3 separate regions of the Homo sapiens genome follow, and regions 1 and 2 are each linked to region 3. Evidence: promoter capture Hi-C in 16 types of primary human blood cells and fetal thymus (Javierre and others, 2016). All regions are on one chromosome and are shown on one strand. Each heading gives the region's core, a stretch centred on a gene start or on the middle of the fragment in contact. The rest is flanking DNA. Distances are from core to core; before and after follow the strand shown. Region 1 has its middle 1.6 kb from the start of ACBD6. Region 2 overlaps ODR4 (odr-4 GPCR localization factor homolog). Region 3 holds the start of SMG7-AS1 (SMG7 antisense RNA 1).

The links. The method cuts DNA at HindIII sites, captures the fragments that hold promoters and counts their contacts. A CHiCAGO score of 5 or more calls a contact.
Region 1: a fragment that was not itself captured here is called in contact with the fragment with the promoter of SMG7-AS1 in region 3 in 1 of 17 cell types (activated CD4 T cells); the score reaches 5.2 in activated CD4 T cells.
Region 2: a contact is called between a fragment that was not itself captured here and the fragment with the promoter of SMG7-AS1 in region 3, in 1 of 17 cell types (naive CD8 T cells). The highest score is 5.8, in naive CD8 T cells.

The regions. Positions count from the first base shown.
Region 1 is chr1:180,502,866-180,505,565 of GRCh38, reverse strand. No RefSeq gene overlaps it. Among named protein-coding and RNA genes, the nearest start is that of ACBD6, 1.6 kb to the right of the region's middle. The HindIII fragment of the contact is 1,615 bases long and covers 477-2,091 here.
Region 2 is chr1:186,381,007-186,383,706 of GRCh38, reverse strand. It overlaps ODR4 (odr-4 GPCR localization factor homolog), which reads right to left. Exons shown (of 14, transcript NM_017847.6): 3 at 551-685. Among named protein-coding and RNA genes, the nearest start is that of ODR4, 6.5 kb to the right of the region's middle. The HindIII fragment of the contact is 1,244 bases long and covers 709-1,952 here.
Region 3 is chr1:183,470,672-183,473,371 of GRCh38, reverse strand. It overlaps SMG7-AS1 (SMG7 antisense RNA 1), which reads left to right and starts at 1,390. Exons shown (of 5, transcript NR_040063.1): 1 at 1,390-2,652. It overlaps SMG7 (SMG7 nonsense mediated mRNA decay factor), which reads right to left and starts at 873. Exons shown (of 23, transcript NM_001375584.1): 1 at 723-873. The coding sequence starts at 751. RefSeq lists a silencer at 886-1,035 and an enhancer at 1,191-1,822. The HindIII fragment of the contact is 8,906 bases long and covers 1-2,700 here.

The DNA.
Region 1 (2,700 bases), core at 35-2,534, 3.0 Mb after region 3:
ATTGGCTTACTTCTGCGGTCTTGCATTACTTCTCCCCGATTCTTCCCTTGGGGTGGGCTGTCCGCATGCACATGCTTGAGCCCACTCGCCCCACTCCTGAGATCTTATCGGGAAGCTGCTGATCACTAGTTTCAGGTGTTTTCTATCAGGAGCCTGCTGTTCCCTGGTGCCAGCTGTGATCAATTATTATTTTAGTGAGACAGTTAACAACCGCTTGACCATCACCTGATGGTTGCCCGACATTCCTGATATGTGCGTGTGGTGCGGAGCCCTCTCCTGCCCTGCTCATTCCTGACTAGCTACCTACTGTAACAAGATTGAGATCTTGGGCATCTCAGTCTTATCTATAGAGAAGTGGCTAGCATGAGAATAAAGCTGCAATTTTAAAGTAGTAGTAGTTATTTGTTTGGGCCAAGAAAAAGGTGTTGTATTTTGTAGTCAGTAAAGTGAGCTTTTTGTCTGTGCTTAGAAAAGCTTAATGAAGTGGTTTGCTTTGTATCATTGTATCATGATTTCAGAGTGACCTTGTCTGCAGTTGCTATTTTGTGAGATTATTTCTCTTCAATAGGAGAATAACAAGGCCTAGCTGTGAGTGTCAGGCCAGCTTCTCAATGTTAAGGACTCTTTCCTTTTTCTTTCTTACATTTTAGTTTTATAATACATTTTTCATTCAAATATACATACAGAAAAGTACATAAATTATAAATGAATTTTCATAAAGTGAACACATCAGTGTACTAATGTTCGGCTTAAGAAACAACATATCCAACTTCCAGAAGTCCCCTTCATGCACCCTTCAGATCACTAACCCTGAGGTTACCCACTATCCTGAGTCTAACACCACAGATTAGTTTTGCCTGATTTTGAATTTTTTATGACTAGAAACATGTAATATGCACTTTTTTGAGTATAGGCTTATACTCAACATTATGTTTGAGATTCATTCATGTTATTCTGTGTCATTGTAATTAGTTCATTCTCACTGATGAATAGTATTCCATCATGTAAGCACACCAGTTTATCTCCATTCTAGTGTTGATGGACATTCAGGAGCTTCCAGTTTGGAGCAATTAGGAATTAGTTCATAGTGCTGCTATGAATGTTCTCGTACATGTTTTTGGTGAATGCCATGTATATATTCCCGCTGGGGAGGAGTCGAATTGTTGTATATTTATGTTCAGCTTTAGTAGATAGTGCCAAACATTTTTCCACAGTGATTGTACCAATTTATGCTCACACCAGCAGTGTAAAAGAATTCTGGTTGCTCTCTTTCCCATGTTATGTAAACTCTTCCAGAATACAGAAAAAGATGAAAACTTCTAAATGCATTCTACAAGGATTCTATTACCTTGATACAAAATTGAGAAAGTATAGAAAAGGAAAACTATAGGTTAATGACATCTTTAAATGGAACTGTAAAGATAATGAAAATATTAGCAAACTGAACCTACAAATTTTTTAAAAAAACCAAACCAGGACCAGAATGGGTTTATTCCAAGAACAGAAGTAATGCTCAAAACTAGGAGGTTTTGAAATAATGCATACTAATTTATCAATGTTAGCTATTATATAATTCATTAAATCCCAAATTTATTTTTGTTAATATAATTCATTAAAATAGAAACTGTTAATATAATTCCTTTCGAAGACTAGAGGAGAAAAGCAGATAATCTCCAAAGATGCCAAAAAAGCCGTTGATAATATTCAATTCTCACTTTAATAAAAATTCTAGAAACAAAGATATAAAAGTCCATGTTATATCTCCTTCAGTCTACTTGTCGGGTTCATCATCCATTATTACCCCACATGAAAGCTAACTTCTTTTTCCTTGCTCCTCCATTTGCTAGCTGTGTAGCCTTTGACAAGTTACTTAACCACTCTGTGCTGATTTCCTATGTGTAGTAAAATAAGAGTACCTACCTTATGTTGTAATGATCAAGTCCTCAATACATTATTCTTAATCACTTTTTAATTGCAAGAATTTGGTCATTAAACATCCCTTTGACTGGATTGCGAGCACCTTGACAGCAGGGACTAACAGTGGAACTTTCTGGAGACTTAAGGAATGTCTGTTGAATCCTGATGCAAGCTTTCTCACCTTCCTGTGTTCTCTCATTGCTTCCTCATCCTGTCCAGCCGTCCGTCCACCCGTCGCAAGCCTAACCCCAGTCAATAACCACTGTTTACAACACTTTCTTTGTACCCTTCTTATAGTGCTTATTACATTGTTTTGAATACTAAATGAATATATAGTGCGTCGTTGTGTTTAACATTTAGGACATAACCACTCATAATGTTACAGTTAAAAAAATAGTTTTGTGCATTCCTCTAGGGCCGAACTGTGCCGTACTTCTGGTTTCACTGTACAGTGTCTACAAAGCACAGTGTCAAAGACAGAGCTCGGGATGAGAACTGGGCTAAGGCGCGCCCCGAACTCCCCAAACCCTATTATTCAGGGCCCGGAGAGGTGCGGGCTCCGAAGGTGTGGAGAGCGAAACACGCAGAGCAGTGATTCCACTCATCAGTCACACAGTAAGACGGGACAGCCCCATCTCGCAGTTTTTCATTATTCAACACAGAGCCCAACGCGCACGCAACAGATCCGCGCGCAGGGCTGTTTGGAGGCGCTTGGGGCGCACAATCTGGGGCAGGCGGAACCTTAGTCCTCAGCCTCGCGTTTCCCGCGACTCCGCTCTCACC
Region 2 (2,700 bases), core at 81-2,580, 2.9 Mb before region 3:
ATATGTCCATATATATATATATATATATCTACATACACAGAAACACGTTTGAGTTTAAAAGATTTAAAGATTTAAAGTTGATTGGAAAAGGAAATAAATCTTTTATTTATTAAAGAAAATTCTTTTTCTTAAAACAAACAAACAAAAACGCAGAATGTGCAAGTCTGTCACATAGGTTTACGTGTGCCATGGTGGCTTGCTGCACCTATTGACCTGTCCTCTAAGTTCCCTCCCCTCACCCCCAACCCCAGAAAAGGAAATAATTCTATTTTTACCTTATTCTAACATTATTTATTTGATGATATATAATTCATTCAATAAATACTTGTAAGTGAATTAATTTAGTCATTATTCCCACTCACCCATCCCAAATCTGTTTCTTCCTCGTGTAATGCCAACAGTATCCTCCTAGACACCCAGACTAAAAATCTCAGTCATCTTTAGCTACTTTCTCCCTATGTCTCTTCTCTCTACTCATTCACTAAATCTTCTTGATTCTAGCTCTTTTTTGAAATAAAACTTAAACATATAAACAAAAAAATAAGATAACCTGGCAGGCATGTTCTGTGGCCCATTCTTCATCCAAGTTATCCAACTTAGCTTTGGGATGTTTGAGGTTCTCACTTTGCTCCTCTTTGGGTGGCGTTCTAGTGGCAAGAATCACATAATCCTTTTGTGACGAACACTTCAACAACAAATTAAAAAGCTTGTTAGAGTGATATCTGATTCCTCAATCTAATTAGAGTGATACCTAAATTCCTTAGCTTTTATGACATGCAAAAACTGAGTAATATTTGTAACAGGTTAAATCATTAATACCCACATTATAATGGAAGCTAAAGGGAAGCTAATTTTCAAGGATGGCCTTACAATCTTTCCCTCACATGTTGTTTATCTTTTAATGTATTTAATATCAGCTTCTTATTTATTTGGACAACTCAAATGTAAATCATGGAGTGGTCCCTAAAAATGGTTTACTGGATGAGTGAATGAATTACATTAACTAAAAAGTAATATGCTTATTCAGTTTTCTAGTTATATTTGTTTTATAAGTTATAAATGAACAGATCGGAAAATATTAGTAAAATGAAACAACAAGTGACCTTTTGTATCTTATTTTAATTGAAATGATGACAGTAGGGAACTTCCACATACATTTCCACAGAATAACAAAGGGGATTTGGGACACAATTTAAAGTGATACAGATTCTATGTTCCTCAAGTTTTTTGTTTTGTTTTGTTTTTTGTTCTTTGTGTGTGTGTGTATTTATTTATTTATTTAGAGACAGGGTCTTGCTCTAATGCCCAGGCTGGAGTGCAGTGGTGTGATCATAGCTCACTGCAACCTTGCACTCCTGGGCTCAAGCAATCCTCCCCCCAAGTAGTCTCCCAAGTAGCTAGGACTACAGGCTCAAACAATCAGCCATAATGCCTGGCTTTTTTTTTTTTTTTTTTTTACTTTTTTGTAGAGACAGAGTCTTGCTATGTTGCCCAGGCTAGGTCAAACTCTGACCTTCAAGCAATCCTCCCACCTCGGCCTCCCAAAGCATTGGGATTACAGGCATGAGCCACCACACCCAATCTGTTCTTCAGCTGTAATATCAGTTAAGTAGTAACCAAAGTTGGGAGATCTAAAAATAAATGTAGGGGAACATTCAATAGCTCAGTTTCACTACAGTGAAAGTTTCCTATAAAAAAAGAGTGAAAATAACACTGCTAATGCAAGTTAGCATTGTATCTTCCCCACACATGACCTGAAACTCTGATCATTAGTATCATCTTGGGATAGAAAATAAGAGTAACTATTCCTACAGGTTATTTTCAGGAAGTTACATTCAAATAAACACAGGAAAAGAAAGTAGGTCTCAGTTAAGAAGGCTCCTCTTTTCTTCATAAAATGTATAACTTTGAAAAGAAAAAGAAACTGACAGAGACCAGGAAACAGGCAAGCTTAAGAGGAAGGAGAGGAAAAAGTAATGAACTCTGGAAGAAAAAGCACGTAGAATACTGAAAGGAATGAATTGCTCTGTCCGTGAGCAATACATACTACAGCATAAAAAGAGATAGAAGGAAGGCCTTAGGCCGGGCGCGGTGGCTCACGCCTGTAATCCCAGCACTTTGGGAGGCCGAGGCAGGCGGATCACGAGATCAGGAGATCGAGACCATCCTGGCTAACACGGTGAAACCCCGTCTCTACTAAAAATACAAAAAATTAGCCGGGCGAGGTGGCGGGCGCCTGTAGTCCCAGCTACTCGGGAGGCTGAGGCAGGAGAATGGCGTGAACCCCAGGGGGCGGAGCCTGCAGTGAGCCGAGATTGCGCCACTGCACTCCAGCCTGGGCGACAGCGAGACTCCGTCTCAAAAAAAAAAAAAAGAAGGAAGGCCTTAAATTATGAGACACTCATTTGTAAGATGGCAGTTTGCCTGAGCTTTAGAAACAACCTTTATCCAGTTAAGACAAATTTAGAAGAGGGTCTTTCTCCCTGACTTTTTATCTCTACTGATCACATCTTTCTCTAAGACTCTTCTTCTCTTAAATGTTTTAAACAAAGAGAAAGAAAAAAACTTAAATAGAAAACTCCTAACAAAAAGAGCCCCACATTACAACTGAATTAAAAAGAAATTCACACTGTTCTCAAGAGAGGCAGTCTGGCTGTCTAATGAGAGGCCTCACAGAGTGGTGCTACCTGGTTGAACCAT
Region 3 (2,700 bases), core at 141-2,640:
CCACTCTTAATGAATACACACGACTCTCAGAATGGTATCTTCCGACTACACTGATTCTAACCCAGTTTCTTCTGAAAAACCCAACCTTGTCCACAGTGCCTCCCTCTTTCCTCACTTCCCCATCTATTCCCCTTCACGCCTCCCCACACCGCCAACTAACTACAGATGACATTATTCCTCAATACTCCCAACCCGAGAATGAAGAACAAGCTCCAGTTTCCTGCGGTCTCCCTCTCCCCCTGTCTGCCCTCCGCGGTTCCCCCGCCCCAACACCCCAGGTGTGCAGACTTCCTCCCCGTCCTCTACTCATGCATCGCTCCAACCAATCCCACGCCACACCACGAGTCCCCTGCCACGGGGATCAGACTCCTCCACACCCACCTCCACTCGGGGTCGCCGCCGCCTCCCCGGACGTTTCTCTCCACCCCTCGCTAGCAAACCCGAGACCAAGGGCGCGCGCGCACATTCTCACGCTTCCCCAACCTCCCTCCTCGCACCGGGACGAGCCGGCTTCGCCAGAGCTCAGCCCGGGCGGTAGGGGCTAGGCACCCATACCCGTTCCGCCCCCTCCCGCAGATCCCCTTGCAGTCTCCGCCGACCTGCCCGGCGAGGAGAGGACGCAGCAACTCCCCCGCCACCCCGGACTTACCTCGGTGTCTGTTGCTCCATGCCCCAACCTGCGGCCCGCTCCCCCTACGTACCAGCCCGGCCTCGGCACTCACCGGAGGTACTGCGCGCTCTGCAGGCTCATCCTCCGCCGCCGCCGCCGCGTCTTCCCGCGAAGCCTCCGTGGGTCTCTCAGGCTCCTCGGAGCGGCCCCGCGGCACCGCGGGTGCTGGCGGCCGCCGCCATCTTCCTCTCCTCCGGCTCCTCCTCGCTCGGCAGGGGGGTGGGGGTGAATGAGGCGAGGGGGAGGGAGTGGGGAAAGCTGCTCTCGCTGCTGCTCTGGCCCGTGGGGCGCAGGGACACTCCGACCCGGGGGGGAGGGGGAGGGAGGAGGGGCGGGGGAAAGAGGAGAAGCAGAGGAAGTCGGCGACCGGGCGAGGGAGGGGGTCCCTCTCGCGAGATTTCAGCAGCGCCTGTCCCTCAGTGATTTCCGCCTCTCTGTAGCGCTCCCTTTTGGGATCAACGAGCTGTGTGGCGCCTGTGCGGCTTCTGAGAGACCGGCTGGTGGCGCTTGGCGGCTTCCTGCCAATCCACCCTTCTCCTCCCGCGCAAGGGGGCAATCCCAATCCCACCACCGGGAACACCCAGGCCAAAAGAACGGGAGTTACACTCAAAGTCTTCCCCCTTCTTATCACTCCTGCCGATTTCCCTCTTCCTTTTTGCACGCCTCCACTCTTCCCCACCGGAAACGCCGCCCCTTCCTCCTACAGTTCCTCCCAGCAGTCCCTCAACGCCTGTCTTCCCTCGCGCGTAGAGAGTGACTCGAAGGACCCCCTCTCCTCTTCGCTGCAGCCCCTCCCCATGCACGCTGGGAGACTCTTGGAGGGGATAAGGTGGGGCCCGGAGAGGAAGAGAAGACAATCGGATTGGATAGGCAGCTGCCATGGCAACTGGAGGCTGTGGTTATATTGTCATAGTAACCGATGTGTGCGGACAGGGTCACCCTCCCCTTGGCCAATGGATTCCCAGGAAACCACCCAGGGTTCCCCGTTGGCTTCCCTTCCATCTAAAGGCCTCCCCCAAGTTAGGAATCGATATAGTTCTCCCCGGTGGTGAAGTCCACTTCCTCCTCCCTTCCCACTTCCCACAGCAACTGGGGGGACACCCCGAGGCATTCACCATGGGCTTTTCCACCCGCCTGCGAGCGGGAACCACCTCCGTAGTTTCCTCTCAGAGCCGGGCGTGGAGAGGGCTGGGCCTGCGAAGAGGATGCATGGCCTGGAGGCTGGCGGGCGGCGGGCTGGAGTCGGGAGGGCGAGGCGACAGCGCCAAGCGGCGAGGAAGGGCAAGGGGTTTCCCCACAACTGCCTTGGGCTCTGGGAGGCGGGATCCCGCCTGGACGGGGTCCCTGAGGGAGGAGAGCGGCACACGACAGCCGCGATGCCTTCCCTGCCGACGGGGATAGCCGACTTCTGGCGAGTCGACCCCTCCCCCAAATCCACCCCACCCGCGTACTCCCTCCTGACCTAGCTGTCGCGAGCCTGCCGCGAGGAGGCCAGGGTGAGGGTGGGAACACATCCTAGAAGGCTAACACGTGGTTTTCTATCATTTAAGCCGGGGACAAGCCGGAAGGCTGACTAGCGCCATCACTCTGATAGGCACCCCGCAGTGGGGATCCTGCTTGATTATTAAAGGCAGACCTCCAAGTTCCTCCCTGCTCTGCAACCTTTCTCTTCTCACGGGTCTGCAGTGTTTTAAAAGTCGTCATTCTGTGTCGTTGAGTTAGAGAGGAAAACATCGGATAAAAGAGGATCAAGAAGAACGAACCCTAGATACATCTGTCTGGTGAAAGGAGTCTAGGAAAAGAAGTTTCATTCTTAGAACAAATCTTTTTGGATATTTATTATGTGTGTTTTGTGTCAGGTTTCGGGCCAAAAAGCTGAAATAAAGAACGAAGTCAATAATAATATGAAGTGTATGAGAAATAGCTGGAAAATTCATCATCCATGACTTGAAGAAATTGACGTTTTACAAGTTATATTTTCGGTTCGTATTGTGGAGTCACTTAAGGAGCTATCCCAAAGTACTTTAGGA